Regions from separate parts of the Homo sapiens genome. Here region 1 is linked to region 2. Evidence: promoter capture Hi-C in 16 types of primary human blood cells and fetal thymus (Javierre and others, 2016). All regions are on one chromosome and are shown on one strand. Each heading gives the region's core, a stretch centred on a gene start or on the middle of the fragment in contact. The rest is flanking DNA. Distances are from core to core; before and after follow the strand shown. Region 1 holds the start of SHISA7 (shisa family member 7). Region 2 holds the start of TNNI3 (troponin I3, cardiac type).

Evidence for each region. Contacts are between HindIII fragments. The CHiCAGO score rates a contact against its expected background, and 5 or more counts as called.
Region 1: a contact is called between the fragment with the promoter of SHISA7 here and the fragment with the promoter of TNNI3 in region 2, in 15 of 17 cell types (total CD8 T cells, activated CD4 T cells, naive CD4 T cells and 12 more). The highest score is 13.0, in total CD8 T cells.

The regions. Positions count from the first base shown.
Region 1 is chr19:55,441,548-55,445,432 of GRCh38, reverse strand. It overlaps SHISA7 (shisa family member 7), which reads left to right and starts at 2,133. Exons shown (of 4, transcript NM_001145176.2): 1 at 2,133-3,240. The coding sequence starts at 2,570. RefSeq lists a silencer at 3,230-3,319 and an enhancer at 2,813-3,441. The HindIII fragment of the contact is 48,275 bases long and covers 1-3,885 here.
Region 2 is chr19:55,155,275-55,159,436 of GRCh38, reverse strand. It overlaps TNNI3 (troponin I3, cardiac type), which reads left to right and starts at 1,705. Exons shown (of 8, transcript NM_000363.5): 1 at 1,705-1,858; 2 at 2,129-2,141; 3 at 2,304-2,387; 4 at 2,793-2,834; 5 at 3,105-3,236. The coding sequence starts at 1,848. It overlaps DNAAF3 (dynein axonemal assembly factor 3), which reads left to right. Exons shown (of 12, transcript NM_001256715.2): 12 at 1-772. The coding sequence ends at 375. DNAAF3-AS1 (DNAAF3 antisense RNA 1) reads right to left here and starts at 128. Exons shown (of 4, transcript XR_007067345.1): 1 at 1-128. RefSeq lists an enhancer at 1,927-2,514. The HindIII fragment of the contact is 18,804 bases long and covers 1-4,162 here.

The DNA of each region.
Region 1 (3,885 bases), core at 884-3,383, 290 kb before region 2:
ACCGCCAAACTCTCTTCCACAGTGTGGGGTCAAGCCACTTCTAAGACTCCCATTAAACACCCAGGAGGAAGTGTCCAGTGGGCAGTGGGGTATTCTAGCACCGAGTCAGGGGAGGGGTCCAAGCTGGAGCTGAAAAGGAAAGGTGAGGCCCCAAGCAGGAGGGCGATGGAGCTCACTGAGGCTCTGGAAGGTTCACCTTCCAACCCTCTGCCCATCCCCACCAGCAGCAATGTTGTTGACAGTGGTGTGGTCCCTAGACACACACACGATGGATGGTGGCATATAATAGAAAATAACACCGAGTGATATTTATTGACTCAATCCCATCCACCCCCTCCATCCCTTTATGCTGCTTTCATTTCTTCACGGCTTCCTTCATCATTCCTTTTTATTTCTTCACAATTGGCGTCAACATGTGTCCCATTCATTTGTGTCCATCTGCTGACTGTCCCCCCTCACTAGCACGTAAACCCCCGTAAAGGCAGGAACCCTGTGGGCTTACTCACTGCTGCATCCTCAGCCCAGGGAGGCTGCTCAGGAGACATTTATTGAATGAAGATTTGCAGAACGAATGCACACCCCGCGCATCATGCCTGCTCCTGGGAAGCTCTATGGCAGCCTCTCGGCAGCTAGCTCAGGGCAGGGGCTGTTCAGATCAGGTTCTTGCAGAGAGGAAATGTAAGACTCCGTGGGCAGTCACCCCAGACCCCTGGGGGGTTCCTCCTGCAGGTAGAGCTCAGACGTTTCCTTCTCCCGGAACCCGAGGCCAGGCATCCTTCCCACCTCTATCATCCCTCTAGGTCCACGGGGGTGGGCGTGTCTGGGACTTGGCTGGACTGTTGCCATAGAAACAGCTGGAAGACGTGCCCACCACCACCACCACCAACTCCCACCTCTCTTCTGCATCACCTTTTCTCTCTCTTTTGAGACAGGGTCTCACTCTGTCAACTCAGGCTGGAGTGCGGTGGTGAAATCACAGCTCCCAGCAGCCTTGATCTCTGGGACTCAAGTTATCCTCCCACCTCAGCGTCCTGAGTACCTGGGACTATAGGTGCGCACGACCACGCCGGGCTAATTTTTTTTTTTTTTTTTTTTGTAAAGACACGGTTTTGCTGTGTTGGCGAGGCTGGCTGGTCTCCTGCTTGAGCAATTTGCCCACCTTGGCCTCCCAGAGTGCTGGGATTTACAGGCGTGAGCCGCCGCACCCGGACGACCCTTTCTCAGCCTGTATCTCCCTTCTGAAATAGCAGCAGCAGCAAACACTTTCATATTTCACCTGCAATATGCCAGGCACTGTTCTAAGCTCTTTACACATATTCCCTCAGTTCATCCTCCTGACCACTCAGAGATAACCATCCTTATCCCCATTTTACAGATGGGGGACTTGGGGCACAGGGAGCTTAGATAAGAGCCTGTCAGTGTCAGGCAGCTGGCAGGAGGTCCAGTCGGCAGGGGAACCACCCTGCTGTGGTTGTGGTTCAGCTGTGGACAGAGACCCTTCAAACCCGACGCCGTAACAGTGGTGTGTGTGTGCGTGTGCATGCCAGGGAGAGAGAGAGAGAGAGGGAGAGAGAGGGAGGGAGGGAGGGCACCTAAGATCCCTTGATTATCAGATCTAACTAAGGGAGAGAAATTGGCATTTCGGGGCACTGAGGACCATAGGGGTGTAAGTCAGTGGTTCTCCACGGGGGCAGCTGTGGCCTCCTCCCACCAGGGGAACATTTGGCAATGCCTGGAAACATCTTACATTGTCACAACTCGGGGGAATGTGGTGCTGCTGGCATGGAGAGGGCGCTGCTAAACATCCTACAGCGCTCAGGACAGGCGCTCACCACAAAGCAGCATCGGTCCCCGAATGTCAGTGTTGAAAAACCGTGCACTGCCTCTTCCCACTTGCCTGGTCTATAAACTCAAATTCTCAACTTCTCTCTCTCCTCCTCCCTCCCTCTCCTCCCCCTCCTCCTCCTCCCCTTCTTTTCTCCCTCCTTCCCCGTCTCCCTGACTCCTCCTTTCCCACCCACCCCTCATCTGTCTCGCTTCCTTCCCTCCCTCCGCGGTCCCCACTCCCCTCGCCACCCTCCCCTCCCCTTCGCGCGCCTCCCTCCAGCTGCCTCCCCTGCCCTCTCCTCTTCGCCGCCCCCGTTTCTTCTCCTTACATCGCGCCTCGCCTCGCTCCTCGTCCTAATGTCTGCACACCCCTCTGGTGTCTGTCGACCCTCCCAATCGCTTCTCCCGCATTCATCTCTCGCCTGATCCCGGTTCTGTCCGCCCATGCTCATTTCTCTCCCCCAGCCGTGCCCGGGCGCGTTTCCATTACTCTCCCATCGTCGCCCACCGCGCGTGGGGCGGCCAACTTGGGCCCACGCAGCTCAGCTCCCTCCGCCCTTCCTGCCTCCTGGCGCCTGTTGCTCCCCACACTCTGCCGCCCCCCGCCCGCCCTCCCCAGCCTCTCTGCCCACCCATCTCTACGTTTCTCACCCTCTGACCGTTTCTCTCCCGCCCAGCGCTCCAACCTCTGCTCTCGTTCTCCCCGCAGCCTGGCGGCCCAGTGCGACCCCCTGCAAGCCCCATGCCGGCCCTCCTGCTCCTCGTACTCCTGGCCTCTAGCGCCGGCCAGGCCAGGGCGCGCCCGTCCAACGCCACGAGCGCCGAGCCCGCGGGCCCGCTGCCCGCCCTGCTGGCGCACCTGCGGCGCCTGACCGGGGCGCTGACGGGCGGCGGGGGCGCGGCGAGCCCAGGCGCCAACGGCACCAGGACCGGCCCCGCGGGCGGGGCGGGCGCGGCGGCCCGGGCGCCCCCTCCCGCCGAGCTCTGCCACGGCTACTACGATGTCATGGGCCAGTACGACGCCACCTTCAACTGCAGCACCGGCTCCTACCGCTTCTGCTGTGGCACCTGCCACTACCGCTTCTGCTGTGAGCACCGTCACATGCGCCTGGCGCAGGCCTCCTGCTCCAACTACGACACGCCGCGCTGGGCCACCACGCCGCCGCCGCTAGCTGGGGGCGCCGGGGGCGCTGGGGGTGCGGGCGGGGGGCCAGGGCCCGGCCAGGCCGGGTGGTTGGAAGGGGGCCGGACTGGGGGTGCCGGGGGCCGCGGGGGCGAGGGCCCCGGGGGCAGCACAGCCTACGTCGTGTGCGGGGTCATCAGCTTCGCCCTGGCCGTGGGCGTCGGCGCCAAAGTGGCCTTCAGCAAGGCGTCCCGTGCGCCCCGGGCGCACCGGGATATCAACGTGCCCAGGTGCGTGTGCTCTCGGGCGGGAGGACTGCGAGCCTGGGGCGGGGCCCAGCAAGGGAGGTGGAGCCATCCGAGGAGGAGGGGCTGCAGGGATAGGGCGTGGTGGTCAGAGACCCAGGTGGCGGCCGCCGGCGTAGCTGAAGGTGGGCAGGGGCTGAGAAAGTCGCGCCAGAGCCGGCCCGGCTGTTGCGGAGTGATGCAGGGAGAGGGAGAAGCCCAGACTCTCATTCATTCGACACATATTTCTTGAGCACCTTCTGTGGGCCAGGAGCTGGGGATACACCAGTGAACAAAACAAGGTCTCTGCCCTGGTGGAAAAGCCTGACTTCCAAATCCAAGTTCACAGCCTACAGGCTATGTGACAGTGGATGAGTTGCTTAACGTCTCTGTTCCTCAGTTTCCTGTCCGCACAATGAGACTAATCATCGTCCCCACCTATTCGGATTGTAATTAACTGAGTTGATTCGTGCAGGGTCCTGGCACACGGTAAGGGCTCATTAACTATCAGTGGCCCAGTCCGTAAGCATGTGCAGTGTAATTTTAGATGACTGCTGTGAAGAAAATCAGCGGAAAGTGTTGAGAGAGAGGGCGCTGGATTAGAGGAAGTGATCCGAAAAGGCCTCTGAACGGAGACCCGAAGGGAGGGAG
Region 2 (4,162 bases), core at 456-2,955:
GTGCGGCAGGAGCAGCTGCAGGGATTCAACACCCGGGTCAGGGAGCTAGCTCAGGCAGCTGGATTTGCTCCACAGACCGGGGCCAGGCCTTCAGAGACCTTCGCACGTTTCTGCAAGTCCCAGGAATCAGCTCTGGGCAACACTGTCCCAGCTGTGGAACCCGGAACTCCGCCCCTTGACATCCTGGCCCAGCCTCTTGAAGCCAGCAACCCAGCCCTTGAGGGCCTGACCCAGCCTCTGCAGGGTGGGACCCCACACTGTGAGCCCTGCCAGCTGCCCTCTGAGTCTCCAGGTTCACTCTCAGAGGTTCTGGCTCAGCCTCAGGGGGCCTTGGCTCCGCCCAACTGTGAGTCAGACTCCAAAACTGGAGTCTGACCCAACCCCTAGACACCCCTTATCTCCAACTTCCAAAGTCAGGTTGTAGGATGAGAACCCGCTGATACCATTCTAAGTCCGCTGCTAGAGTCCTCAATTTTATTCTAATCATTCCCACTCAGTACCCGCCACCCCCACCCCGGGAGTGTTGGTAGACTTTCAAATTCCATTTCTGAGATTCTATGGTCTATTCCTAGAATTCTAGATTGTTCTCTCAGAATTCCAAATTCCACTTCTGAGGCTCTAAGCCCAGCCTAGGATCTGACACTGAGTCTCAGGCCCTTGACTTTGGCCCCCTTGTTCCCAGGCACCCTGTGGCTGACTAGGGGCTGGGGTGTCTCCTCACCAGGGCCTGGTCAGCACCCAGATGGTTCAAGTAAAGCAAGTTGTGTCCACCCTTCTGTGTGTCCAAGCGTCTTTCCTGTCCTATGTCCGTCTCCAGGGCTGGGAGAGAAAGGCCCAGGAGTGCTGGACAGAGGAAGCCAGAAACCAGATTCCTGGGTTTCCAAGTGGACGAGGGATGGATTTCCCAGTGCTATTGACTGAGAGCTAGCCCCGAGCACAGCTGCATCCTCAAATTAATCAACAACATTTATTGAGTGGCCTGGACTCCTGGGTCTGAGGGGAGAGGGATTGGGGTCCTGGACTCCTCGGTCTGAGGGGAGAGGGATTGGGGTCCTGGACTCCTGGTCTGAGGGAGGAGGAGCTGAGGGTGCAGACTCTTGAGTCTGAGAGAGGAAGTGTGCTGGGGGCCTGCCTGGACTCCCTTGTCTGAGGGAGGGGCTGGGGGCCTGGACCCCTGGGTCTGAGGGAGGAGGGGCTGGGGGCCTGGACTCCTGGGTCTGAGGGAGGAGGGGCTGGGGCCTGGACTCTTGGGTCTGAGGGAGGAGGGGCTGGGGCCTGGACTCTTGGGTCTGAGGGAAGAGGAGCTGGGGGCCTGGACTCTTGGGTCTGAGGGAGGAGGGGCTGGGGGCCTGGACTCTTGGGTCTGAGGGAAGAGGAGCTGGGGGCCCAGACACTTGAGTCTGAGGGAAAAGGGGGCTGGGGGCCTGGACTCCTTGTGTGAGGGAGTGGCCAGGGTCTCCCAGGGTCCTGGGACTGAGGGAGGAGGAGGTTGGGAGGTCGGGCATTCTCTGGGTCTGAGGGAGGAGGGGTCTAGGACTCCAGGATCAGAGGGAGGAGGGTCCGGATTCCTGTGCCCGGAGGTGGCTGGTGATCCAGCTGGAGCAGGGCCCACCCCGCCCCTCACGCGCCCCCGTTATCTGGCATAGTGGGCAGGGGGAGGAGGAGGTGACAGTATATTTAGTCTGTGTCCTCGCCCTTTATCTCAGTGTCCTCGGGGAGTCTCAAGCAGCCCGGAGGAGACTGACGGTCCCTGGGACCCTGAAGGTCACCCGGGCGGCCCCCTCACTGACCCTCCAAACGCCCCTGTCCTCGCCCTGCCTCCTGCCATTCCCGGCCTGAGTCTCAGCATGGCGGATGGGTGAGTGATGCCCCAAGGCAGTGGGAGTTGGGGGCGACCTCCCGGGTTCCCAAGAGGGGTCGCAGCTGAGAGGCTGGACCCTTGGCCTGCGAGGTAGGCGTAGGGACTCTTGGGTGAAGAGAGGAAGTGGGTTTGCGAGTCAGACTCCTGGAACCCAAGGAAGGGGAAGCGCGGTCCCCCGACCTCTTGTTCAGAGGGGACTCCAGGGGTCCCTTAGGAGACAGGACACAGCCCACCACTAACCCCCCTCCTTGGTTTCTCTCCTTCCAGGAGCAGCGATGCGGTGAGAGCAGCGGGCTAAGGCGTGGCTGGGACCCCCAGGGCCAGGGTGGGCGCTGCAGTGAGGGGTCTGGGGCGGGAGGCTGCAGCCCTAGCAGAGGGTGCGGTACGGTAAGGGCTGGGTGGGGTCTTGGTGGTGATGGGGTCCCCACTCCTCCTAACCCAGGCTAGGGAACCTCGCCCTGCACCAGCCCCAATCAGACGCCGCTCCTCCAACTACCGCGCTTATGCCACGGAGCCGCACGCCAAGGTGGGACGGGGCTTCCTGGGGGCAGAGTACAGGCGCCGGAGGGATCCAAGACCCTGGGAGTGGGGGGAGGAGCCAGGGCTGCGAAGGGGGCGGGGACTACGCGGAGGGGCTTCAGGGGCGGAGTTTTGCAGAGGGTCATGCTCGGATTGGTGACAGCAGCCTGCGGGCGGAACTCCGTTGCCCTCGGACTTGCTTAGGGATAGATGGGAAGTGCCTATCCAAAGGAAGAGACCCAGATTGGTGGATGGGAATGAGGGGCGTGGCCTCCCGTAGACTCAGGGCTCAAGTTGGACGTGGGCCCAAATCTGGACCGGCTGGGTTTGCTGGGGGTGTCTTGAGGTCCCCTCCACCGTCGTCTCCGAATCCCCCTCCATGATCCTTCCTTGCTCCATCTCACCCTGGCAGAAAAAATCTAAGATCTCCGCCTCGAGAAAATTGCAGCTGAAGGTGAGGACGGGCGGGACTGGGAAAGAGCAGGCAGGTGCTCAGGGGGCGGAGCTTGAGAATGGGTGGGGCTTTCGGGGTAGGTGGGCGGAAGTGGGCGGGGTTTGGCCGCTCGGGGCGTGGCTTTAGCGGGGAGTACTGCTCGGGGTGGGACGGGGCCTTGGAACAGTGGAGACCAAACTGGAGGGTTTAGAAGGGCAGAGGCGGTTCCCCACGCCTGGTCTTTATCCTGAAGCCCCGGGTGGGCTGCGCTTCCCTCCCACCCCTCTGCAGACTCTGCTGCTGCAGATTGCAAAGCAAGAGCTGGAGCGAGAGGCGGAGGAGCGGCGCGGAGAGAAGGGGCGCGCTCTGAGCACCCGCTGCCAGCCGCTGGAGTTGGCCGGGCTGGGCTTCGCGGAGCTGCAGGTACCGGCTCCCAAGGATGCGAGGTTTCTAGTCCCGGAATTCAGCAGTACAGCCTCTATCCCCTCTTCTGCTCGGGACCCAGGCGTCCAATATGGCTGTCCTTACCCAATTATATATGGTTCGTGGGACTCCTGGCCCCTAACACCCTTTGTGTGCAGGTCTGTGGAGTCTTGGCTCCAACCTACTCCTTCAGGACCATGTGGCCCTCCTATCCCAGACAGAAGCCCAAGCCCCAGCCCCTCCTCCCTCAGACCCTGGAGTCCAGGCCCCAGCCCCTCCTCCCTCAGACCCAGGAGTCCAGTCCCCAGCCCCTCCTCCCTGAGACCCTGAAGTCCAGGCCCCAGCCCCTCCTCCCTCAGACCCTGGAGTCCAGGCCCCAGCCCCTCCTCCCTCAGACCCTGGAGTCCAGGCCCCAGCCCCTCCTCCCTCAGACCCTGGAGTCCAGGCCCCCAGCCCCTCCTCCCTCAGACCCTGGAGTCCAGGCCCCAGCCCCTCCTCCCTCAGACCCAGGAGTCCAGTCCCCAGCCCCTCCTCCCTCAGACCCTGGAATCGAGGCCCTCAGCCCCTCCTCCCTCAGACCCTGAAGTCCAGGCCCCAGCCCCTCCTCCCTCAGACCCTGAAGTCCAGGCCCCAGCCCCTCCTCCCTCAGACCCTGAAGTCCAGGCCCCAGCCCCTCCTCCCTCAGACCCAGGAGTCCAGTCCCCAGCCCCTCCTCCCTCAGACCCTGGAGTCCAGGCCCCAGCCCCTCCTCCCTCAGACCCTGGAGTCCAGGCCCCAGCCTCTCCTCCCTGAGACCCTGGAGTCCAGGCCCCAGCCTCTCCTCCCTCAGACCCTGGAGTCCAGGCCCCAGCCCCTCCTCCCTCAGACCCTGGAGTCCAGGCCCCAGCTCCTCCTCCCTCAGACCCTGGAGTCCAGGCCCCAGCCCC